Linked DNA regions of Homo sapiens: regions 1, 2, 3, 4, 5 and 7 are each linked to region 6. Evidence: promoter capture Hi-C in 16 types of primary human blood cells and fetal thymus (Javierre and others, 2016). All regions are on one chromosome and are shown on one strand. The core of a region is centred on a gene start or on the middle of the fragment in contact, and the rest is flanking DNA. Distances in the headings are between cores, read along the strand shown.

What was found. Contacts are between HindIII fragments. The CHiCAGO score rates a contact against its expected background, and 5 or more counts as called.
Region 1: a fragment that was not itself captured here is called in contact with the fragment with the promoter of EIF1B in region 6 in 3 of 17 cell types (non-activated CD4 T cells, monocytes and M2 macrophages); the score reaches 6.4 in non-activated CD4 T cells.
Region 2: a fragment that was not itself captured here is called in contact with the fragment with the promoter of EIF1B in region 6 in 7 of 17 cell types (activated CD4 T cells, total B cells, naive CD8 T cells and 4 more); the score reaches 9.1 in activated CD4 T cells.
Region 3: a fragment that was not itself captured here is called in contact with the fragment with the promoter of EIF1B in region 6 in 2 of 17 cell types (monocytes and naive B cells); the score reaches 5.6 in monocytes.
Region 4: a fragment that was not itself captured here is called in contact with the fragment with the promoter of EIF1B in region 6 in 2 of 17 cell types (total B cells and naive B cells); the score reaches 8.9 in total B cells.
Region 5: a contact is called between a fragment that was not itself captured here and the fragment with the promoter of EIF1B in region 6, in 8 of 17 cell types (naive CD8 T cells, total B cells, fetal thymus and 5 more). The highest score is 13.7, in naive CD8 T cells.
Region 7: a contact is called between a fragment that was not itself captured here and the fragment with the promoter of EIF1B in region 6, in 7 of 17 cell types (total B cells, M0 macrophages, total CD8 T cells and 4 more). The highest score is 9.2, in total B cells.

What each region holds. Positions count from the first base shown.
Region 1 is chr3:42,179,434-42,183,082 of GRCh38, forward strand. All of the region lies in intron 3 of TRAK1 (trafficking kinesin protein 1), which reads left to right. Among named protein-coding and RNA genes, the nearest start is that of CCK, 85 kb to the right of the region's middle. The HindIII fragment of the contact is 9,746 bases long and covers 1-3,649 here.
Region 2 is chr3:42,148,404-42,152,033 of GRCh38, forward strand. All of the region lies in intron 2 of TRAK1 (trafficking kinesin protein 1), which reads left to right. Among named protein-coding and RNA genes, the nearest start is that of TRAK1, 59 kb to the left of the region's middle. RefSeq lists an enhancer at 3,217-3,630. The HindIII fragment of the contact is 2,941 bases long and covers 538-3,478 here.
Region 3 is chr3:42,105,527-42,108,849 of GRCh38, forward strand. All of the region lies in intron 1 of TRAK1 (trafficking kinesin protein 1), which reads left to right. LOC124906231 (a long non-coding RNA gene) reads left to right here. Exons shown (of 2, transcript XR_007095889.1): 2 at 1-3,323. Among named protein-coding and RNA genes, the nearest start is that of TRAK1, 16 kb to the left of the region's middle. The HindIII fragment of the contact is 2,953 bases long and covers 394-3,323 here.
Region 4 is chr3:42,123,504-42,126,796 of GRCh38, forward strand. It overlaps TRAK1 (trafficking kinesin protein 1), which reads left to right. Exons shown (of 16, transcript NM_001042646.3): 2 at 1,917-2,111. Among named protein-coding and RNA genes, the nearest start is that of TRAK1, 34 kb to the left of the region's middle. RefSeq lists an enhancer at 27-126. The HindIII fragment of the contact is 3,959 bases long and covers 1-3,293 here.
Region 5 is chr3:42,216,482-42,220,205 of GRCh38, forward strand. TRAK1 (trafficking kinesin protein 1) reads left to right here. Exons shown (of 16, transcript NM_001042646.3): 15 at 3,013-3,115. Among named protein-coding and RNA genes, the nearest start is that of CCK, 48 kb to the right of the region's middle. The HindIII fragment of the contact is 4,951 bases long and covers 1-3,724 here.
Region 6 is chr3:40,308,200-40,311,699 of GRCh38, forward strand. EIF1B (eukaryotic translation initiation factor 1B) reads left to right here and starts at 1,508. Exons shown (of 4, transcript NM_005875.3): 1 at 1,508-1,773; 2 at 2,694-2,857; 3 at 3,271-3,372. The coding sequence starts at 1,743. It overlaps EIF1B-AS1 (EIF1B antisense RNA 1), which reads right to left and starts at 1,499. Exons shown (of 3, transcript NR_033965.1): 1 at 1,124-1,499. It overlaps LOC124906228 (a long non-coding RNA gene), which reads right to left and starts at 612. Exons shown (of 2, transcript XR_007095876.1): 1 at 1-612. RefSeq lists an enhancer at 1,239-1,598 and a silencer at 1,869-1,918. The HindIII fragment of the contact is 2,965 bases long and covers 1-2,844 here.
Region 7 is chr3:42,198,872-42,202,202 of GRCh38, forward strand. It overlaps TRAK1 (trafficking kinesin protein 1), which reads left to right. Exons shown (of 16, transcript NM_001042646.3): 11 at 306-382; 12 at 1,947-2,183. Among named protein-coding and RNA genes, the nearest start is that of CCK, 66 kb to the right of the region's middle. The HindIII fragment of the contact is 673 bases long and covers 989-1,661 here.

The sequences.
Region 1 (3,649 bases), core at 2-2,501, 1.9 Mb after region 6:
CTGGTTTTAAGGGGAAGAGGATGCTGTGGCTCACCTGGGCTTGCTGCTGTCTGGAATGCACCTTTGGGCAGAGCTTGCCTCCTCCTCGGTTACAGAGAGGGTGATTCCACTGGCCCCTTAGTCATGCTTTTTATCCTGAAATTGGTGAATGAGATGAGTCAGTTGCTAAGTGTAGGCGGCAGGCTGTTTGGAATCTCTAGTGGGTGTGTCAGTCAGTGCAAGAGTTCATTGGTAAAAAGGGGCTGAGACTCAAGTTACAGTCTTTTTTAAGTCTATGCTTTTAAAGCATAGTGAGGAGAGGGAGCAGGCAGTTAGAATGAGCTCTACCTTGCCTCATTTCTTGGGGGAATAAAGGAACTAGTTCTTTTAATACCTTATTTCCAAGGGCCTAAATTACTTGTTTGTGGTCTCTTTTTCTCATTGTAGTTTAATCCAGTGGCCATCTTCTAGCTGTTTTCTTGTTTTTATCCTTTTTTTTTGGTAGGGATGGTGTCTCACTATGTTGCCCAGGCTGGTCTTAAACTCCTGGCCTTCTCAAACTCCTGATTCTCCCACCTTGGGCTCCCAAAGTGTTGGGATTACAGACATAAGCTGCCACGCCCAACCTGTTTTCTTGTTTTTAGAAGTAAACATTAATCATATTTTGGCTAGAGAAATGGGAGGTTTTTTTCATTCTTATAATTCTCAAAGAAAAACCCAACCAGCTTGTTGCCTCAGTAAAATTAAAGAGAAAAAACTAGAGACACTACAATAACGTTTCTGTTTAAATTTTCATTTTATCTATAAATATTTTTAATGTAACTTTTTATTTTCAATTTTTTAAGTACATAGTAGGTATATATATTTATGGGGTACATGAGATACTTTGATAAAGGCATATGCTGCATAATAATCACATCAGGGTAAATAGGGTATCAGGCTGAGCAACGTGGCTCACACCTGTAATCCAGACACTTTGGGAGGCTGAGGTGGGAGGATTGCTTGAGGCCAGAAGTTTGAGACCAGCCTGGGTAGCATAGTGAGACCCTGTCTCTACAAAAAGTTAGACGCTGTAACTGAAGAAGAGGAAAACTTTGCCCAAACCTGCATTCCAAAAATTAGATAGGCATGGTGGTGCATGCCTGTGGTCCTAGCTACTCAGAAAGTGAAGTGGGAGGGTTGCTTGAGCCCAGGAGTTTGAGGCTATGGTGAGCTGTAATTGTGCCACTGCACTCCGGCCTAGGCGATAGAGTGAGACCTGTCTCAAAAAAAAAAAAAAAAAAGAAAAAGGAAAAAAAGGTGGAGGGTGGAGAAAGAAAGGGATATCATCACTTCAAGCATGTATCATTCCTTTGTGTTACAAACATTCCAATTATACTTGTAGGTATTTTTCAATGTGCAATAAATTATTGTTAATTGTAACCACCCTATTGTGCTATCAGATACTAGATCTTATTCTAAGTATATTTTTATACAATTTGCTGTGACTTCTTGCTTTTTCTTCTGGCAGAGAGTGTTCTTTAAAATTACTCTAAAGATTACATTTCTGGTATAGACCAGGGAAGTGTTTGTCCTTAGTGGGGCAAGAAGAGGCGAGGCAGCCCTTAGGTGCAGGGTTTGAGGTGTGACAGGTAGGACAAAGGACTTCATTGTTGAGCTCATTGCTCTACTTGTTTCTCTTTCCCTTCCTGTCTCCCAATTCCTGTTGGTTTCTGGCCGTTTGTGTGCTGGAAGCCTTCCGCATCCTTCAGGTGCTCTGGCAGTCCCTTGCCATGCCTGAGCCATCTTCATTATTATGCTGTGTGCTTGATTTGTTTGCATTGAAATGTGCGTACAAAATGCGGCTAAAGGCCGGGCGCAGTGGCTCACGCCTGTAATCCCAGCACTTTGGGAGGCTGAGGTGGGCAGATTACTTGAGGTCAGGAGTCCGATACTAGCCTGGCCTACATGGTGAAACGCCATTTCTACCAAAAATACAAAAATTAGCTGGGCGAGGTGGCGTGTGCCTGTAGTCCCAGCTACTTGGGAGGCTGAGGCAGGAGAATCACTAGAACCTAGGTAGCGGAGGTTGCAGTGAGCTGAGATCATGCCACTGCACTCCAGCCTGGGCGACAGATCGAGACTCCATATCAAAAACCAACAAAAAATGTGGCGAAGGCATGCAAAATATCAGCGCTTGTTGGAACTTGGCAGCCTGGATGCATGAAGGCAATGCAGACCAGGTAGTCAGGTAGTGAGCTGAGGAGCACTGATGAAGCAACTGCTGAGTGTTCAGTCTGAGAACTAGTTCTAGTAGAGACATTAGGTAGACTTGAGTTAGATTTTTGGAGACTATACTTCCAAAGAGAAGTGAACATTGGTATTGCAGTTTTAACCAAATCCACCTGAAACCACTTGGACTAGGTGCTAATTTTCAGTCAGCCTCTGGAGACTTTAATTCTGTGCAGTCTCCCTCACACAGTTCTTTGAATCCTTTCCTCTAGGTACCTAATAAGCACAGCTGTTGAGTCTGAGAAATGACAAAGGGCCATGAAATAAGGTACCTTTTTTTTTTTTTTTTTCAATTTTGTGTTTTGAGATGGGGTCTCCTGTGTTGCCCAGGCTGGTCTTGAACTCCTGTGCTCAGGAGATCCTCCTGCCTTGGCCTTCCAAAGTGCTGGGATTACAGGCATGAGCCACTGCACCCGGCCAAGGGAACTTCTTGGTAGACACTGACCAGTGTGGATAAATGTGCAGAGATGAGCATCTCTGTTGATGGGGCAGATGCACCGTGTCCCCTTTGCCCCGTGAGAGGGCCGTCTCCACATGTACTGTGTTCCCAGAAAGGCAAGGTCATGATGGGGAGGCACAAATTGTGGGAACGAGTTGGGGGATTTGCAACTCTCTCTTTTTTTTTTTTTTTCTTTTTTTGAGACAGAGTCTCTCTCAGACACTCAGGCTGTAGTGCAGTGGGGTGAGTGAGCCCCGCCTCCTGGGTTCAAGTGATTCTCCTGCCTCAGCCTCCCGAGTCGCTGGGATTACTGGCTCCCGCCACCACACCCAGCCAATTTTTGTATTTTTAGCAGAGACGGGGTTTTGCCATGTTGGCCAGGCTGGTCTCAAACTCCTGACCTCAAGTGATCCCAAAGTGCCGGGATTACGGGTGAGAGCCACTGTGCCTGGCCTATTTACAGCTCATTTTTGATACTGTGATACCTGGCTGGCTTGTGGGACTGTGGTGACAGCATTGCCAGTTTGGGGACTGTGGAAGGCCTGGAGGAGAGAGACCATCATCCTGCAAGAGGGAGCCAAAGTGCTGTTGAATCCAGTCTTCTCAAACTGTACTTGACCTCAAGTGCTGCGCTCATACTGCAGTGAAGTTCCTGTGGTTAGCAAAGGGAGATGTCTGCTATTGCATGGAATAATTGGGTGGCTATCCAAGACGTTAGAAATAAAAGCGGATTTTTCTCTTTATTCTAAAACTCAGTGAATCATAAAGCTAGAGAGTTTTTCCAGAATATCTCAGCTAGCCTGCACCTTTACTCTACCTTCATTTAACAGTTGAGGGAACCTATGTTCAAGTAGGGAACCCATACTCTCCCAGTTTACAGTAGGATAGTTCACCTGGAGCAGTTCAATTTGTGACCAGTACCTGCTGTAAGAAACACAGCTTAGGTTGTGACCCAGTACT
Region 2 (3,630 bases), core at 758-3,257, 1.8 Mb after region 6:
CTTATTATCCACTACCTTGTTTTATTATGAATATTTCAAACATATCAAACATTTAGAACTAATATTAACTGTATTTTTTAAGGAAATAAAACATATGGGTGCATTTATAAGGAAAGTTTTAAAACCTCATTTCCTCACTCCTTCCCCAGAGGCAACTAACTTCCTGCAGGTGGACTTTTTTCTTCTAGTGTGCACTTTAACGCCTTGATTACACATGTACGTGTCCATGAAACAGCATATTGTACTGCACAAGCCCTTTGTGATGGCGCCCTCCTCTATTTGTATGTGACAGGCTGTTTTTCTAGAAGTTTGAGCAAAAGCATGAGCAGAGAATAGTAGTGCATCTAAGTGAAAATGTTTCCATTTTCTAAGTAATTTACATTTCCTTTAAGTGGTGGTCAAAAATTATAGAAGATGTTTAATGTGTGAAATCAGGTTGAGGAAAGGAAACCAAAAGTAATGATTTGCAGATTTTAAAAGGTGGCAGATTTCAAATCCAGAGTCTTCTTTCTATCGTGACCCAAAGTAGGGTGAATAAGCTTGTCCTTACGTTTCTTGAAGGTGATGATGGTGCTGACCCCTCTGTCTCTCCCTTGCCTGTACCCTTTCTTTTCCCTGCCTGGCATCTCTCAGCCTCTGCTGCCAGCATCCTTGGAAGACATTTCCTCCATCTCTGCATCATTTTTCAGAGCCGGCCAGTTTCTATGGCAACGGTTAGATTGAAAGATGAGCGGCGAGCAGGAGACGAGGCTTGAGTGAGACAGCCAGTGGTGGTGTGTGTCTCTGACGTCACCCTCTAGGCGTCTGGATAGGACGATCCTGGCTACTCCCATTCAGGGCTGCTGTCCAGTGCTGCTTTATTGGCAGTGCTGCCAGGGTCTCCGTTAGCTCTCTGCAAATTGCCTTCCTTTCTGCTCCTCCTACTCCCTCCTTCCCCCATAGAATTTTTCTTTTCATTGCCCACTTTACTGTTTTGGCTCCAGACTGTCGTTAAGAATGTACAGCCTAATTCTGGTGTGTTTCGGGATATTCTTCTGTCCAGTATTCTGGAAGGGCGGGGAGGCATGGCAGCGTTTTACTTGACGTTGATGGTGCTGTGAAGTCCATTCTTTCCTCTGCAAGACTACTGACTATGCAGAAATTTATCGAAGCGGATTATTATGAACTAGACTGGTATTATGAAGAATGCTCGGATGGTAATTATGGCCCCTGCAAAACAGAGCCGGGATGTATAGGGGTATTGTCTCCTTCTGGGTGGGGGGTGTCCTGAAACCTTTAGGGGAGACAGGCGGCTGGCGGGTGGGAGGTACCAGAACTAGCACCACTGGCTCTGGCAATTCCAAAGGCATGGTGGAGGAGGTGGCAGGTGGGCAGGGCTCTTTACCGTGAAAGACTCCTGCAGTATGTATGATTGTTTGCTTAGAAGGGGAGATGGTTTTTGGTGTGCTGGGCTTGTAAGTGTTATACTTCTATTGGATTGAATTTTCTCTGGTGTGAGACGTGAGTGTGTTGTTGATGCATGAATGTGTGCAAGTGGAAATGTGTTCACTGCGCTCTTGCTGTTGGAGGGGATAGGAAACTGGGGGCTTGGAATAGTGTGTTCAGGAGGTGGCTTCCTGGACTGTCAGCAGCAGGCCTGGAAGACTCTGCCCTTTTCTGAGCCCAGACCTGGGAACCATCAGAGGCTGGAGAAAAGGCAGAAGCAGCTTACCACTTAGCGGGTGATTCAAATGAAGTTTGCTTGTTGGATCCAACAGAGATGGGGGTGGGGAGGTGATGGGAGGGGCAGGGAAAGAATGTGTCCTTCTGTCACTACCTTGGTTTGTGCAGGGAGGGTGTGGCACATTCCAAGGGAGACTGGGTGGAGGCCAAGTTGTGTGGCTGGACAGGTCTCAGGAGGTTTCAAGCACACAGAAAACAGCACTGAGGTGCGTTCTCAGAGACATCACAGTGGGCGGGGTCTCAGGTTCCTGGGGTGTTGGACATCAAAATTGTGTATTACACAGTTAATCTGTCTTTAATTTTGTCTTGAAAGTGACCCTCATATCACATGCCTTCACAAAAAAGGGGCCCAATTAATATATACACTTTGAGGGTCTGTTCCCCAGTGATGATATGTTCCCAGCCCTATATGAGCCATTAATAGATAAGGTAAGTGCTTTTTAATTGAGTCGGGAGTTTCAGAATGCTCTATTCCTGACTACATTTGATTAACCTGAATGATGTAACAGGCTGGGACCTGGCCTAGTTAGTAAACTGAAAAACTACATAATTATCTCTTATCCACTGATTTTTGCCGCGACTGTGGGTTAAGGCTTTCTCAGGGGATGGTATTTAAATGTGTGGAAAAACTATGCCAGTTCAATCTCACTGGCCCCCAGCTTTAGATGCAGACATTGTCATGTTCGTTCTGTGTACATCTTTAACTATTTTGAGTAACAAGGATTGGAGGCAGTTCCCAGGGTCATGAGGGGAAAAGATGAGTGAATTTTTTCTTTGGAATATATTCATTCTAAAAGCAAGTTCCCATTCTGTTACCTAACTCCAAAAGGAAATTCTAGAGATGCTCCTTTTTGGAAACCATCATTGACCTCCTTCTAGTTTCCTTGGTGATTTGTGACTCATTGAACCCTCTATAACTTTTTAAAGTAAGGGATTGAATACATCCTCACTGTACCATTGGATTAGGGAGCACTGGTTACAGCAGGGTGCTGTCAGAGGCCCCGTGGATTAGTCAGGTGGGGCCATAGCTCTGTGGATGCCATCCTAGAAGTGGAGGAAGAAGGTTTCCTAATACCATGACCCAAATGCCACACCATCCAGTTCCCTTTACACCCTGAAATAAAGCCAGTCGCTTGCCATGGTCAATCTGGAGGGTGAGCGGAGGCCTGCTCTTATCTGGGTATCCATCAGAAGGATTTTCTTACCCAGCACTTCCTCAGTTGAGTCTTTTGGCCCTGAGAGACCCTGATCTGTCTTCCTCTAAGAGCAAAGGAAAATAGAAGAGGAGATGGCTCAACTGTTCAAGGGTAAATATATTGATTTATTTATTTCTGAATTATTGTTATTGTCTGAATGTATGTTGAGCAAAATACTTGTCCTTTATCATCTATCCCATTTTGGATGAAGGGAAGAAGGTTTTTGAGACAGAATTTACTGGGACCACTGGTATTTTCATACTCCCATTTAAAGAGGTAGCAAAGTAGGGAATAAAGGAACAGAAGTCCAGAAATAAACTGGTTTAGGAAACGTACAAAAAGGAGATTTCAATTATGTGCCAATTTTGTGGTTACTTGCTTACACATTTCTAACTAGTTGAGTTCCTTCCTAGCTTCAGGCAGATTAGTCTGGAAATGAAATTTGCCCCTGTTTATATGTACCTGTCTTTTATTTGCCTCTGTCTTTTTTATTGCAACTCAATAGACACACACCATTGCTTTGTCTCTGATTATTTGGCATTTGAATCGTCAATGAGGGAAGCTTTTACAGAACTTTTGATACTAATAAAAGGTGAGTCAAATGTTTTAAAAAAGATGCAGAATCATCATTTATGTCAGAGCTACTGACTCACACTTAAATTGCAGTGTTAGCACTGAAAAAGAAATGTATATGGATGGGAATATAGATTGC
Region 3 (3,323 bases), core at 620-3,119, 1.8 Mb after region 6:
CCAAATCTACGTCTGATTGGTGTACCTGAAAGTGATGGGGAGAATGGAACCAAGTTGGGAAACACTCTTCAGGATATTATCCAGGAGAACTTCCCCAACCTAGCGAGGCAGGCCAACATTCAAATTCAGGAAATACAGAGAACGGCACAAAGATACTCCTCAAGAAGAACAACCCCAAGACACATAATTGTCAGATTCACCAAAGTTGAAATGAAGGAAAAAATATTAAGGGAAGCCAGAGAGAAAGGTCGGGTTACCCACAAAGGGAAGCCCATTAGACTAACAGCAGATCTCTCAGCAGAAACTCTACAAGCCAGAAGAAAGTGGGGGCCAATATCCAACATTCTTAAAGAAAAGAATTTTCAACCCAGAATTTCATATCCAGCCAAACTAAGCTTCATAAGTGAAGGAGAAATAAAATCCTCTACAGACAAACAAATGCTGAGAGATTTTGTCACCACCAGGCCTGCCTTACAAGAGCTCCTGAAGGAAGCACTAAACATGGAAAGGAACAACCAGTACCAGCCACTGCAAAAACATGCCAAATTGTAAAGACCATCAATGCTAGGAAGAAACTGCATCAACTAACGAGCAAAATAACCAGCTAACATCATAATGACAGGATCAAATTCACACATAACAATATTAACCTTAAATGTAAATGGCCTAAATGCCCCAATTAAAAGACACAGACTGGCAAATTGGATAAAGAGTCAAGACCCATCAGTGTGCTGTATTCAGGAGACCCATCTCACGTGCAGAGACACACATAGGCTCAAAATAAAAGGATGGAGGAAGATCTACCAAGCAAATGGAAAACAAAACAAAAAAAAAGCAGGGGTTGCAATCCTAGTCTCTGATAAAACAGACTTTAAACCAAAAAAGATCAAAAGAGACAAAGAAGGCCATTACATAATGGTAAAGGGATCAATTCAACAAGAAGAGTTTGAGACCAGCCTGGGCAACATAGTGAGACCTCTTCTTTATTTAAGATAAAAAATAAAAATATAATAATAACAAAATAGACACTTTATGTGCACTGGAGTCTTGTGTATAGTGACTCTATCACCTGAATAATTACTTTTTAAAATTATAATGTTGTATTTATTTATTTGTATTCTGCTTTGTAGGTTGTCCTTTGGAATTTTCCACATTTTGAATTTATGTTTGTGTTTATTGGAAAATTGGTTCAAGTGAATGTGGAATCATTTTACTGTCAGGGTATATTTGTTTTTCTTAACTGCATATTGTCAGACTAATATTTTTTGGATGAGTTTGAAATCTTTTAATATCCAGATGATCTCATTTGATGTTTTGAAAAAGTAACCATTGTTCATTTTTAAACAGAATTTCCTGTTCAGGAAATAATTTAGATTAACAATAAAACAGATGAATGCATTGAATGGTAGAGGCACAGTTGGCATTGTGATTTCATGAGATTTTGTACTATTAATAAAATAAGTTTTCCTAATGTGGCACTTAACTTTTCCAGAATTTACCCCTTGATTGCCAGCTAACTTTGCTTGTCCCCTAGTTAGAGCCACCTTTGAAGGGGAAGACAGGACAGTCAGGACAGGGGGAGGGATGTGGGCCTTGAACTCTGGCAGCTGCTCAGGCTACCTTGAAAGCCTTACAGAGTCTAATCATAAACATTGGGTAGAAATGTTTTTGGACAACAGAAAGCAAGTCTAAGAAATCAATTATTTGGGCTGGGCGCAGTGCCTTATGCCTGTAATCCCAGCACTTTGGGAGGCCAAGGCGGGCGGATCATGAGGTCAGGAGATTGAGATCATCGTGGCCAACATGAGGAAACCCGTCTCTACTAAAATACGAAAATTAGCCTGGCGTGGTGGTGCGTGCCTGTAGTCCCAGTTACTTGGGAGGCTGAGGCAGGGGAATTGCTTGAACCCAGGAGGCGGAGGTTGCAGTGAGCCAAGATTGTGCCACTGCACTCCAGCCTGGTGACAGAGCAAGACTCCGTTTCAAAAAAGAAAAAAAAAAAAAAGAAATTAATTATTTATAAACAAGAAACTTCATCTGAACTCCCAGATTAGAACAGTAAAACCCAAGAGGTTGGAGGGAGATGGGTGAGATTAAGTGCAAAAAGATTATTCTATTTTTGCTGTGGATAATTAGGAAAATACAGGTTAACCTCTTAGCCTGTAACCTCTTGGTCTGTTAACCTCTTTGCCTGTACAGATAGTACCTTTAAAGGTAACTATCTGTATCAGTAAGGATTAAGTTTGGCTGTATAGAACAGTGGCTTCACATTATAGAATTTATTTTTCTCTAAAGTATAAGAAGTTCAGAGGGAGACTGTGCAGTACTGGTGCAGCCCTGCTGTCCCCAGGGTTCCATGCTCTTCCTGTCCTTCAGTTCTACCATACTAGATGTCGTTTCCATCCTTAAGGTCATGTCACATCTAAGAAGGCTGCGGAAGCTCCAGCCATCATGTCTGAATTCCAGGATGTAGGGAAGGCAGCCTTTGAGAAAGGCTCTCACACCAGTGCTTTTATCTCATTGGCCAACACTTAGCCTTGTAGTCTCATTTTGCAGCAGGGGAGGCTAAGAAATGTAGTTTTTCCATGGGGCTCAGAGCTTTGATACTAAGAAGAGTATGGATAGCGGATGGCCACCATGTGTCTACCATGTCTCCTTGACTATAATTAAAAATATGATGCAGGCTGGGGGCAGTGGCTCAAGCCTGTAATCCCAGCACTTTGGGAGGCCAAGTGAAGTGAATCCCTTGAGCTAGGAGTTCAAGACCAGCCTGGGCAACATGGGGAAACCCCATCTTTACTAAAAATACAAAAAATTAGCCAAGTGTGGTGCTGCCTGCCTGTAGTCCTAGCTACTTGGGAAGCTGAGGTGGGAAAATCATCTGAGCCCAGGAAGTTGAGGCTGCAGTGAGCTGTGATCGTACCACTGCACTCCAGCGTGGGTGACAGGAGTGAGACCCTGCCTTTAAAAAAAAAAAAAAAAAAAAAAGATTCAAACATTCAACATTAGCATTCCCTAACCTAACCCACATCATGACCCTGACAAGAAAACAATGGTATTTGCATAGCATGATGGGTAAATGATGGAAGTAGTTCTTAGCTGATGGTCACCCCGGACACTACCTGGCACCCTCCATTCCCAGCACTGCTTGTGGAAGCTCTGTTCTAAATCACTAGGAGAAAAAAGAATCTGGTGGCACATACTCTACAATGCAAAAGACAGCAAAGTGATGAAACCTCCAGAAGTTGAACCACCAAGAGGCATGACAATAGTAAGATGAGTCTTGCCCAATTTGACCATAATGCTCCTGTTTGAAGGCAAAG
Region 4 (3,293 bases), core at 282-2,781, 1.8 Mb after region 6:
TCTACTCCCACTGACTGCACCAGTCATTTCCTGTGTGTGTGCAGACATGCACGCATGTGCGAGTGAATGCTCATATGTAAGACTGGGCCTTTCTCCTTTAATTTTATCTTACCGTGTTTAGGAATACCTCATACTTTTGGTTCGTCCTCAGCATCTCCTCTTTATTTTCCCTGCTATTGTGTGGTTTTATTTGTCACAAGTATTTTTTTTTTTTCTCTCCTCTGCCCCTTCTAATATCTTGGAGAGGGATGGAGACTGAAGAGTGAGTTTGGTCCTCCACTTGATCCAGGTTCTTATTTTTGTTTTCTACTTCAAAGCGAGAACTTGGTACTGTGACTTTGATAAGAATTGACTTCAGGCCCAGCAAGATTTCTCATGCCTGTAATCCCAGCACTTTGGGGGGCCAAGGCAGGAGGATTGCGTGAGCCCAGGAGTTCGAGACCCACCTGGGCAACATAGGGACCTTGTCTCTACAAAAAATAAAATTAGCTGGGTTTGATGGTGCACATCAGTGGTCCTGGCTACTCGGGAGGCCAAGGTGGGAGGAATGCTTGAGGATCGGAGGTCAAGGCTGCAGTGAGCCAATATTGTGCCACTGCATTCCAGCCTGGGCAACAGAGTGAGACACTGTCTTAAAAAAAAAAAAAAGAATCAACCTCAGTAATATTCTTATCTTTTGAATAATTTTTCTTTGTTGAAGAGTCATTCCTAGAACAAAATACCAAGTTAACTCTCCTCTCCTGTCTAGTTGTGTGCACCACAGGCACTTGGTTTATTTATGGGTTGACAAAACCACTGCTGTTCCCATGGGCTGTTTCCCATCATAGGGAATGCCTTATGCAAATAGGCTGATACAGTGGATGATGCCAGAATTAGTTGATAGATAATTACCACTCACCCATTAGCACTTATTTAATTCAGTCTCTGTGTTCTGCTTTGATGAGTAAGCACTGGGATAGAGAAGTAGGGTACATATCCTGGTTATGTTTGCCATGTTGTCATGTTTGCATTTTAAAGGCCTGCATTAATGTGCTTTGTGTGAATTGGTTCTCCGTCACAGGCATTAGTATGCACCCCCTGAGCACAGCCTGGGCCAAGAGCTATGGGGTACAGGTGGTGGATCAAGGGTAGCTGTGTATGGAAGTTTGCCCTCTCCCAACAAGATGAATCAGACACTGAAATACCCACAAGACACTTAATAAGTGTAGTAACTGAAGTTCTGACAAAATGGCATGTCAGTATAGAAAGGGTAAGAGAGATTAATTCTGCTTGGTGTGCTCAAAACACCAAGCTATTCCTTAAAGGATGGGCACCTATTGGTGTGATTGCTGGATGCCCCATAAGGATATAAGTGTTTCAAGGGCAGGACCATGACTCTTGTGTTCACCACTGTGTCTCCTTTGCCCGTGGTACTCAGGATTCAAATGGATGGATCGATGGAAGGAAGGAAGTGTGGATGAATGAACAGATGAATGAATAAATTAAATGAAGGCAAAATTCTAGATAGGAGGATAGCTTCAATGGTAAAAGAGTGGCATGAAGAAGTTAGGCATACTGGTGAAATTAATACTGGTTTGGCTGACATGTAGAACGCTTGAAGGAGAATGGCCAGAGAAAGGGTTGGAGGAAAGACTTAACTCAGATGATAAAAGCTCAAAAATTTTGGCTTTTCTTCCTAAATAGTGGACACTAAACAGCAGGAAACATTTGGGTAGGTCTTGGCCGTAAGCATGCACAATTCAAAGTTTTGAGACTAGAATTTAAATTGGAAAAAGACTCCTGATATAGCCTTGTCTAGCTTCTTTGTGCTGTAGATAAATAACCGAAGATACCTGCCGCAGGCTACAAGTTTAGTTAACTAGCAGCAAGGCCATAGCCATTTCTGGGCTCTCATTTCTTGGTTGTCTTGTCTTTAGATGTGTGCAACAGCACCGATCTTCCGGAAGTCGAGATCATTAGCCTGCTGGAGGAGCAGCTGCCCCATTATAAGTTAAGAGCCGACACCATCTACGGTTATGACCACGACGACTGGCTCCATACACCTCTCATTTCTCCAGATGCCAACATTGACCTCACAACCGAGCAAATTGAAGAGACGTTAAAATACTTCCGTAAGTAGTTGTCCATGTGTGTTGTGATGGCAGTATCATGATCAGGTCTTCTTAGCCATGGCCCCAAATAAGATCTTGTACTGGCTACCCTGTGATGTGGCTTGCCACCTCTGGAAAGGTAGTCAAAGAAATGCGGCTGTAGGGGTTAACCGCACAAAAGGTCCCAATTTTAAATGTTCTGAATAGAAATTTTAGAGGAGTGAGGACCAAGTAAGATTTTCATTTGAACCAACTTTTTATGTATTTATTTTTTTGAGATGGAGTCTAGCTCTCTTGCCCAGGCTGGAGTGCAATGGTGTGATCTCGGCTCACTACAACCTCTGCCTCCTGGGTTCAAACGATTCTCCTGCTTCAGCCTCCCGAGTAGCTGGGGCTACAGGCGCGCACCACCATGCCCGGCTAATTTTTGTATTTTTAGTAGAGACAGGGTTTCACCATGTTGGCCAGGCTGACCAACCTGAGCACTCCTGACCTTAAGCCACCCACCCACCTTGGCCTCCGAAAGTGCTGGGATTATAGGTGGGAGCCAACTTTTTTTTTTTTTTGACTGTACAGAAGAATTTGAAAATGTTCCTATTTCTATTTCTTACCAAAAATACAAATCCTTAGAAACTCACTGGGAAGGTGTTTGTCTAAATTTAAAACCAAAGATATTGGGAATATCCAGGCTTCTCATTTATGTGACATAGCAAAATATGTGTACCAAGGCTGATAACTGTTGTGTGAAAGCTCACTAAGCTGGATGTTTGGAGAGTCCAAATATCACTGCAGCAGCAAACCAGTCATTCTGATGGGCTGCAGAGCTGATACCTGGTAGGATAAGCAGTAAACTAGGTGAGTGTTTTCAGTGTGGTCATGATGGCCAGGGTGTGAAACTTGATATTGCAGACTTGAAAAAAAGGATAATTTAAAAAATGAATACTTTATGATTCTGGTATTTATTCAAAATGTGCCTTTTTAGAAGTAATTTCACTCTTTAAAAACTTATGGCAGCCAACAATTTACATATCTGTGTATCACTGTGTCACTTAAAAAAAAGTATAGCAATCCTCCTACCTGCAGATAACTTGGTTCAAAACCAGCTTATGTTGCATCTTTAAAGATTTCTTGTAATTATTTTTACTAATACAGGCTGATCTCTCCAATTTTCTTGAATTTGTGAGATTATTTGTAATAAACAAA
Region 5 (3,724 bases), core at 721-3,220, 1.9 Mb after region 6:
AGAGTGAAAGTAAGAGTGGTTCTCACTCTTGCAAAGTCCTCTGATGTGTCCACCTGTAGCTAGCTGAAGGATGTGTGCTTGCATGTGGTGTGTTTTAAGAACAAAACATCTGCACGACAGCTACGGGCAGTTCATCAACACAGGAGATCTTGAATAATAATCAAGGATTAATTAAGTTTAAAGCGTATCACATTTTGTACCAGTGTCAGAATCTGGGGGAGGAAGAACAATTAAAAAAGAATTAGGGGTTTTTATTGGTAAATCCAAATTCATTCCTAAATCAAATGATGAAAATATTTGTCGTTGTTAATACTCTAACCCATTTAATATGTGCCTGTCTCTTCAAAACACTAGGAAGCCCTCCACTCAGGTTGAGAGAAAGAATAAGAATTTAAATAGGGAATTAAAGCCTTAAATCCAAGAAACTCTATCCTTTGAGCTCCCAAATGAGCAGCATGGGATGAACACATAATACCATCTTCTGCAAAGAACTTTCTGTTTAGATAAAGAAGGGGGCTTTGGTGCGTGGCATGGGCTTGGTGACTTCACAGTGAGCCCTCACCCAACCCCCCTATTTCCTGCCAAGAAGGATGTTTTATGTTTCTCTCTCTCTCTCTTTTTTTTTTTTTTTTTTTTAGAACTTGCTCTCTTCCTGCACCCAGGGCTTTAGGAATCAGCCCGTTGCTTCTCTGTAGCAAGCATGAGGAGCCTCTGATGATCCCAGTCTTGGGTGACTCACTGTCTCTCTGTTGTGTCTCAAGGAAGGGAGGTGCAGCAGCATCCTGGCAGTCAGTGGTGACATGCGGAGAGCCCACGGGTCCAGGCGTCCTGGTGGTATTTTGGAAGGGCCAAATCTCTGGCTTTAGCACTTTGGAAACTTGTTGATCTTCCTTGGTCTTCTACGGCTATTCATTGCTTCTGGGGAATGGTGACTTGTGAATTTTTAGCAGCCTTTTCCTATCCCCAAAACCCATTTGTATAAGATGGGTTTGCTTCTGCTGATGCAACTACGTCTCTAAAATGTCCATCTTACACTCCCTATTGCAATTGAAGATCCAATATGTAAGAGGGTGGAGGAGGAAGTGAACATTTGTGACCTTTTGATTTGATATTCTGGCCATATGTTTAAATGGGGGTATGCTTCTGATTTTAAATCCAGCCTTCCCTTGTTTGATTTCTTTTAAATGTTATCTCTCTTTCAACTGTGTTGTCTTATTTCTATTTACTGCTTTCCCCCTCTCCTCCTTCCCAAATAACCCCTCATGCCTGTTATTTGGGATGCTCTTCCCAGGCTTTTTGTTATTTTTGTTTCTAGACCTTATTGCGGGAAGAGAATCGTGATTGTTTGGTTGCCTTCTCTTCATAGCTTACTCCATTTTTGTTTTGCTTGTGGCAGTTTCTTACTTATTGGAGTTCCTGAGCCATTATGTTCACTGATTGAGAAAGATTCATAAAGGCTATTTTTATGTGTTTTTTTTTTCCTTCCCTCCTGCTTTGCCTGGAGCTCCCCATGGCTGAGAGTTTTCTCCTGTGGCCGTGGTGCTGGCTGTCACGTCAGGTGCCATGGGAGCCTGCTTTGACACACAGACCCGAGTCAGACCTTAAAAATCAGGGCAAACCATCTTGCCTTGTTCCTCTAGTCACCATCACTTTTGTACTCTGGATTTGTCCTGCCTACCTTTAATCTGTGTCTCCAGCATTTATTTTTTTGTTTGTGTCATCGGGTTCCTGGTTTTCTTTTAAGACATAGTCAACTGTGTGGACCTGTAGGTTTGGGGCAGCAACCAATTCCATTGTTTTCCTTTTTGTCAAATCCAAGAGAAAATATACCATAAGGAGCTAGAAGATTCTAGTTCACAGCCTTTTGAATCTTCATGGCCTTTGAATCCTCATGGCCTCTGAAATCTGAATCAGTTTTCTCCCAGGAGGTCTCTGGGGGCTGAGCTGCTACAGGGGCAGAGGGTGGGGTGGGGTTGGGTGGGAGAATCATCCCGGCACTTCATCGTGCATGCTATTTCGGGCAGCATCTTTTTTTTTTATTTTATTATTATTTTTTTTCCTGATGCTTGAGTTATGAATGAGGATGACCTCTGCAATCATGATGTCTCCCATAGACTCTGTTCCTTGTTCCTTTGCCAGCTTTCTCATGCATGGTCCTAACACTTCCATGATTTAATCTGCTGCAGACCATAGTCTTCAGCCACCTCAGCAATAACTTGTTAGAACATTAAAAGGAAGTAAATTGAGAACAACTTGTTGCCATCCCATTTTCATTAGAAATCAGACATCTTAGAGATGTCAAGAAAGCAGCTAGCAGCTAGGGGGTATGGGGACCTGTCCTGCTCACACTGCTGTGTGTCAGACCAGACCTGATCCTGGAGCTCAGGACCCTAGAGAGCCCTGATCTCTGGAACTCTTGCCACGTTGTTGCTGAGGCAGCTGAAGTCCCCATCTCCCACCATAACAATCACAAATAGACAGTAGTGGAGCCAGCATCCCCAGGCCCCTTTTTGTGTAAGCAGAAAGGGAGCTGTGAGCCTTGCCCTGTTTGCAGGTTTCAAGTGCCTCTCCCTGCCTGTACTTCTCCCCTTCCTCTGAGCAGAGCTTTGGTAGCTGTTGCCAATGCAAAGAAATGTAAAGCAGCAAAAGAAGACAGCAGGTTCTGACCTGAGGAGGGAAACCAAATTTATCCCACAAAGGCCCATTACCCCACCCCCCTCGCCTCCCACCCCCAGACTGGATCCACTACTGGCCCAAGAATACTGATGAGAAACCTAGTCTGGATTGGGTCGGAAGCTGGAATTTGGTGCTCTGCAGACCAGTGCTCAAAATTGTGGTTATTTTTGAGGACTCGCCTTCAATCCAGAACATTTGCGTTTCACCTTCCTCGCCCAGATCCAGTTAACAAGGTAGCTCATCACTTCTTGCATCTGTTGAGTGACATGCTGGATTTTAATTTTTATTGTGGTTGTACTTGGATGCAAGGAATATGTTTTGTTCCTCCCAATTTAGCGCACCATCCTGGGAAGTGCATGTCTCAGACCAACTCCACCTTCACCTTCACCACCTGTCGCATCCTGCATCCTTCAGATGAGCTCACTCGGGTCACACCAAGGTAAGGGACCCTGGCTTTGGGGTGGGCAGGGGTGGGGTGAAGTCAGGGCACTCCCTTCCCTGCAAGGCTTAATGTTGAGGAAAGCCAAGTAGAGAGGCTCATAGAAAAACCAACTGAAGCCAGTGTAAGCATCTCAGCATTTGCAGGCACTTGTTCTGGGTCCCATCCTTCCTTTTGTTGTTGTTATGTGTTTTTTTTTTTTTTTTTTTTTTTTTTTGAGGCAGAGTTTTGCTCTGTTGCCCAGGCTGGAGTGTAGTGGCGTGATCTCGGCTCACTGCAACCTCCACCTCCTGGGTTCAAGCCCATCTTTCCTTTTGAGTTGAGGCTATTATTTATTTGGATCTGGCTCAAATAAAGAGACCTGGACCGACCCACCTTTAGTTGCCCTTTTAGTTGGCTATTTAGTTAGAAATGGATTCCTAGGCCGCTCCTTAACCAGCTGAAGTTGACACTACCCAGGCCCTATGGCTAAAGTCTGTTGGATTTTTTGCCCCCAAGTTTGTCAGTAGAGCACAGAGTTCTTTTATTTATGGATGGAGTTACTGAGCCCTGTGGAACCCCTTGTGCCTCTGGAATAGGCCCCAGGAACCATGCAGCACAGCCAAACGG
Region 6 (3,500 bases), core at 258-2,757:
TAAAACTGCAGGGGTGGAGATCCCTAAAATTGGATGGGGAAAGATTATATCTGCATTTTCATTAACCTCTAAGCAAAATTTACCATTTCTTTCCATTATGAATAAAGGCAACATCATAGTGATAGAAGGACCTGTCACTTCGCACCAACAGAAGTTACACATACTTTCATATTAAATTTCTGATGTTACGGACATCACAAAATATCTCTTACATTTATCAGCTTTTTGAAATTATAGTATTAGACCTAATCTTGCTAGATCTTATTAGTGTATTAATAAAGAAATACACGTTATTAATGTATTTTTTAAATTTCAATATAATTGGTTTCCTTTGTAATCCTATGTACTTTGTGAACTTAAAACTTAACTTCTCATTATTCTGAGAAGGGATTCAGCAGCTTCACAGGATTGCCATGGCACACACAAAAAAGTTAAGAATCCCTAAATTTTAGTCTATCTCTTTGCTTCCAGAAAGCCAACCAAGTTTGACAATTGAACACACCTGCCTGAGTGAGCCAATTCCCAAAGTCTCGGGTTTATTTTTCTGTGCGTGACCTGATAGGAAGATATTACGGTCTGGTACATGACTCCATCAATTAACCTATTTGCTGAGCTCACCTTCAGCTTATACCTGGCATCTTTCCTGAATTCTCTGTTGGGCCTTCTGAGGCACACAAAATGAGCTGACAAGCTGATTTTCTGGTATCTTCTGTTCATACACACCTGGCCCCCACTCGATGCCAGGCCCAGGATTAAGCTGGGCAGTGATTCTCAAGCCTGATCCCAGACCAGCAGGCAGGATCAGCATCACCAAGGAGCTTATGAGAATTGCAGATTTTCAGGTCACACCCTAGACTTCCTGAAACAGAAACTCTGGGGTCTATCAGTGTTTTCTCAAGCCCTCCAGAGACACACGCTTTAGTCTGAGATCCACCGTGCTAGGGAATCGGAGGTCCGTCCAATCCTGGAAAGAGAGGCTCCCATCTCCAGTATTGGTTGAGACTAACACCGCTCCTGCAACTGGGGTTGGAATTTCAATGCAGGTAGTTGCTGAGCGGGGGCCAATGAGTTGAAAGCCGGAGCAAGGGGACTTGTTTTGTTCCTGCACCCCGATTTTACTTACATTACCCGGGGCCTCGAGGGTGACTCATAGAGATTAGCCCTGAGCGTCGACCCCTCGGCGCCGCCACTGCACAGCGAGAGAAGGGGAGTCAAGAGAGACGCTTGAGTCCCTTGACTGTCCTCCCCTACGAGCTCTCTGGGAAGAGAGCCCCAGACCTGCGAACTCTGGGCCGCTCTGCGGCCGCTTGAACACTTCGCGGGTCTTCCGCCCCGCGCTAGAGGACGCACTCCGTGACGGGAATTGCGGTCTCGGCCGCCCCCGGCCTCAGGCTTTCCGGGCTCTGCTGCCTCCAGAAAACTACAAGTCCCAGGATGCTCGGCGCGGGACGGTCACGTGGGAGGGGCCGCGGGCGCGGCTAAATAGTCTCCATCGGCCATTTTGTGCGAGAAGCCGCAGCGCCGCCTCTTCTCTCGCGCCCTCGCCTCTTCCTCCGCCTCCTCCTTCGCCTCTTCCTGCCTCCTCCCGGCTTCCGCCGCCGCCACTCCAGCCTAATCCCAACCCCAGGGCGAAGCGTTTTCTTATTTATTTCCGTTTTCTCGCCACTACAGCCTCCTGACAAGGTGATCCGGGCGGGCCCCGCAGGAATTTTATCCCCTCACCGGCCTCACACTAGTATCGCATGTCCACTATCCAGAACCTCCAATCTTTCGGTAAGATCCCGTCGCCGCCGCCTCCCTCCCTTGCCCGGCGCGCATCTCGGCCTTTTGCCCGCCTGGCCACCGCCCCTAGGGGCCCCCTTTCTGCCCTTCCCGCACCCCTAGTGGGGCTTTGTCTCGGCGCCCAGAAAATGGCGACGGGGCCCCTGGCGACCCCTTCCCCGAGGACAGCGCCGGACTCCGAGCCCTCCTCTCGGAGCCCCGGCCGCGGGCCCTGCGCCACCCCCTGCCCCGTCCTTGACCCGGCTCTCGCCTCCGCTTCTGCCCCTTGAAACCTTGGCGATCCTATTTCGTGGACTCCTAGATCGGCCCTGCTACTTGCAAAGGGTATGCCGGGCCAGGGAAACCAGGGATCGGCGCCCGTTCTCTGGCAGCTCCTGGGGGCACTTAGGGAAAGATGCGGATGCAAGCCTCTGATCTGTCACTGGCCAGTGGTTCAGTCTTCTCTGCTTGCGTAGCAATTTGTTAAATTACGCCTCTTGATATATATGTAATCTACTTTTTTTTTGGCAAGGCACAGTTACGGTTAAATGATTAAGGTGGGCGTATTCGAATGTTTATGTTTTCATCAGAATGTAATCGAGATGACGCACATTTTTATAGCGGCTACAATATTAAGGTTTTCTAAATCTTTTTCTCATTAGAGGACCATATTGAACGATAACATTATTTATCTATAACAGCGTTTTTCTACAATGGACATAGCTGTTCAAATGTTTCTCTTTTTGTGAGAGTATCTTGGGGGTTTTATTAATACTCCACCCCCATCTCCATTCCTACCGGCAAAAACAGCAAAGGCACTAGAACCTTCATTGATGACTGTCTGGATTGGTAGTATAATGTATTTCTGGAAAGTACTTCTTAAAAAATATTTTTCTACTTTGGATTTTTTTTTTTTTTTTATCCATTCGCAGACCCCTTTGCTGATGCAACTAAGGGTGACGACTTACTCCCGGCAGGGACTGAGGATTACATTCATATAAGAATCCAGCAACGGAACGGCAGAAAGACACTGACTACTGTTCAGGGCATTGCAGATGATTATGACAAAAAGAAACTTGTGAAAGCTTTCAAAAAGGTAAAGGGATTAGGAAGAAAGGATTAGAGTTACTGATGCACACCTCTGAACTGGATTATGATTCACACCTTTATATCGGCGTGGATGAAAATAACTAGACCAAGAAAGTTGTTCTCATTTTTGTAATTAACATGTAAATATTTAGTTATTCTCCCAGTGTGGTCTCTCATTTTAAAAGAAGATTCGCGTTGCTTTTAAATAAATTTAAATGTGAAATATTTAGTTCTTGATGTTACACATAAAATCATTTCCTGGTTTACAAATTAATTTGGAAGGATTGTGGATTATAGGAGACAAAATCTGTTTCTCTAAATATGATCTAGCTTACTGAAATGGCTAATTCTGTTCATACGGTGAAATAAAACCTCATAGTAGTTGACTAAATTTTGTTGTATATTTATGCACTTTTCCAGAAATTTGCCTGTAATGGTACTGTGATTGAACATCCTGAATACGGAGAGGTTATTCAGCTTCAAGGTGACCAAAGAAAAAACATCTGCCAGTTTCTCTTGGAGGTGAGTGATTGGGTGCTTTATGTGTAACCTTGAGATTGCTTTTAAAATTGTATTTAAAGGCAACATGATTTGTTTTCTACTAAGTAAAAAATCATACGAATGAAGGAAATTAGGTGAAATAAAGACAT
Region 7 (3,331 bases), core at 75-2,574, 1.9 Mb after region 6:
CATGGTTACAGCTCCATGGTTTGGCCAACGGAGCATAGGGTTTGCTTTTAGACACCTAATGGCATATGAGTCAGCAGCTTTACACTCAGTGCCCAGTGGCACTGCCACACTCAGAACCTGCCTGGGAAACTGCTCAGCCAGGGTCTCTGACAACAGAGAGTGCTGTTAAGTTTGTGTTGTGGGAAGACCGTGAGCTTCTGATGCCTTGGTTTACTCTCCATGGCCCACCTGGGTGCATACCTCTTTTAGAGACAGAGCATTTGAATTGGCGCTCACTTGACATTTGTCTTTCTGGCTTTTCCCAGGATTCCTTGGCAGCAGAGATTGAGGGAACGATGCGCAAGGAGCTGCAGTTGGAAGAGGCCGAGTCTCCAGACATCACGTACGGCCACAGTTTTTACAGTTTTGAGATTCCCAGAGACCAACTTGGACCAGTGCAGTGTTCAAAACCTAGCAATGTTGAGGCTCTGGGTACCGACAGTGATTGACTATTGTCCTTCCCAGTCCAGATTAAGGGAAATAATAGAACACAGCTGACAGCATCCCTCAGCTCCTCTTATTATCTTTTGTTAGTGTTAATTTTTATTTATTTATTTTTTAGAGATGGGGTGTCTCACTTTATTGGGCACGCCAGAGTGCAGTGGTGTGATCATAGCTCACTGCAGCCTCGAACTCCTAGGCTCAAGTAATACTGCTGCCTCAGCCTCTTGAGTAGCTAGGACTACAGGCGCATGCCACCATTTCCAGCTAATTTAAAAAAATCTTTTGTAGACATAGGGCTTCACCATGTTGCTCAGGCTGATCTCAAACTCCTGGCTTCAAGTGATCGTCCTGCCTTGGCCTTCCCAAAGTGTTGGGATTACAGGCGTGAGCCACCACTGGCCTGTGAGCCACTGTGCTCCTCTTCTTCTTAGGTTTTAAAGACAAATTGTGAACTTCCAGAAAGTCCTAGAAAAGGAGAGATGTCTTTCCCATCTCTCTTAACACAAGCTTTGTCTTGATATAGCTACACGTTTTTATCTTTCCTTTCAGTGGAAAACATTTAAAAAATTTAAAATCAACGTAGTGTGAGATTCAGAGGGGTCTTCAAAGATTTTGTGCAAGGCTTCCATCTCCATCTGAATACACCTAGGGATATGAGCTTCTACCATCTGTCTTCCTACCTCAACTCTTGTACTTAACCTGCCCCAAGGTGTTTGTAAGGAACATGTGGACCAGGTTTCATTGTGTTTTCTGTGTACTCAGACTCCATAGACAGAACTTAAATGAGATCCTGGGAGTGGCAAGTGTCCAAGTGAGGTTTGGTATATGTGTGACACCCTCTGCAGCCCAGAAGGAAGTGGCCATTGTAAAAACATGCCTACCCTTTTCTCTTTAAAAGGGAACAAATGAGCATCAAAGTGGTTCTGCTCCTAAAATAACACTTTCCAAAATTAGACAAATCTAGTATTTATCATCTTATTATAGAAGTGAAAGACTAACTTGAAGTCTTCCTTTTTTTATATGAATGTTCAACAAATATCCATTCTACAAGTATTGATTGATTTCTGCTGCGCTGAGCAGTAAACACTGCCCTGCTGCAGCGTTTATTCTAGTGAATATTATGAAAAAAGAAATCTAGGAGACAAAAGTCATACTTAAGTATTTTTATTTGTGGGTTAAGCTTTAGGGATGTGAAACACAATTTCACTCTTGCTGGCATCACCTTTAGGATACAACCATGCGTTCGAGTCCTGGGTTTAGTGGGTGTTGAATCTCTCAAATTTCGCATTGTGAAGGAGGCAGCCAATACCCTAAGAAACAGGTGGCAGGCACAGGATAGCAGGCTGCTGGGGGACTCGTCATAGGCCAGGTGCCCTTTTGGCTCAGTTGATCATTTTTGGAGGGTTAAACTCCAGGGTTGTGCCCGCATTTGCTCACTCACGGATGCCGTGCATTCTCCCTAGTCACCAGAAGCGTGTCTTTGAGACAGTAAGAAACATCAACCAGGTTGTCAAGCAGAGATCTCTGACCCCTTCTCCCATGAACATCCCCGGCTCCAACCAGTCCTCGGCCATGAACTCCCTCCTGTCCAGCTGCGTCAGCACCCCCCGGTCCAGCTTCTACGGCAGCGACATAGGCAACGTCGTCCTCGACAACAAGACCAACAGCATCATTCTGGAAACAGAGGCAGCCGACCTGGGGTGAGCAAGCTGGGAGTTTTCACTTCTCTGTTTTGGGGTGAGGAGTGGTAGTATGGATTGTCTGCAGGCTCAGTAATTATTAAGAGGGAGGTAGATGAGAGTCACCTGAAAAATACAGACCTGGCCGGGCGTGGTGGCTCGCGCCTATAATCCTAGCACTTTCGGAGACCGAGGCGGGAGGATTGCCTGAGCTCAGGAGTTTGAGACCAGCCTGGGCAACATTGCAAAATCCCATGTCTACTAAACATACAAAAAATTAGCTGGGCATGGTGGCATGCACCTGTAATCTCAGCTACTCAGGAGGCTGAGGCAGGAGAATCGCTTGAACCCGGGAGGTGGAGGTTGCAGCAAGCTGATAATTGCACCACTGCACTCCTGTCTGGGTGACAGAGTGAGACTCTGTCTCAAAAAAAAAAAGCGGACCTTACAGTTCTCCAAATCTGTTCTGCTTACCCACTTGAGCCTATGCCTATCCTTGATATGATATTTTAATCAGCTTAAAGATGTATAACAAGATGATACCAGAAAGTCTGCTTTCCTGTGAAATGCTTGGGGGAAGGATTAATGAATATTTTTTTTTTTGTTAATCTTCACGGTAAGGCTACAGAATAGACATTTGTTTTGTGACCGTTTTGTAGCTTGATGTTGGAAAGGCTGAGGAGGACTCAGGCTGTCTGTCTTGTGACCAGAATGTGGTCACAAGGTTCAGAGGGTGGGGTGCAGGGGGGCCAAGGTGCCCAGGACTGGGCTTTCCTCAGGAATGGTCAGTTCCTCTTTGTCCTGAAGCCCTGCAGAACCTGGACGGACGGACGGACGGACGGACAGACGGACACACACACACACACACACACACACACACACACACACACACACACACCATTGTCTACTTTGTGCATCCTTTTCCTCTGACTTAATAAAATTGATTCTTCCGGACCAGTTGGAACAGACAGACAGGAAGCTCCTTGATCAGAGCAGGTTTTGTTCAGAGTTGGGGTCTGGGCTCTTTTCCTTCAAGAGAAGAGAGAAACATGCCTTAACCCCATTATCCTTCTGGTAGCCAGGAACAGCAACCTACAGGTTTCTTCCTAAAGGTTCTTCAGGGAGATGTTTACAGGGACTGAATTTACTTAGTCTGTGTGCAGATATTC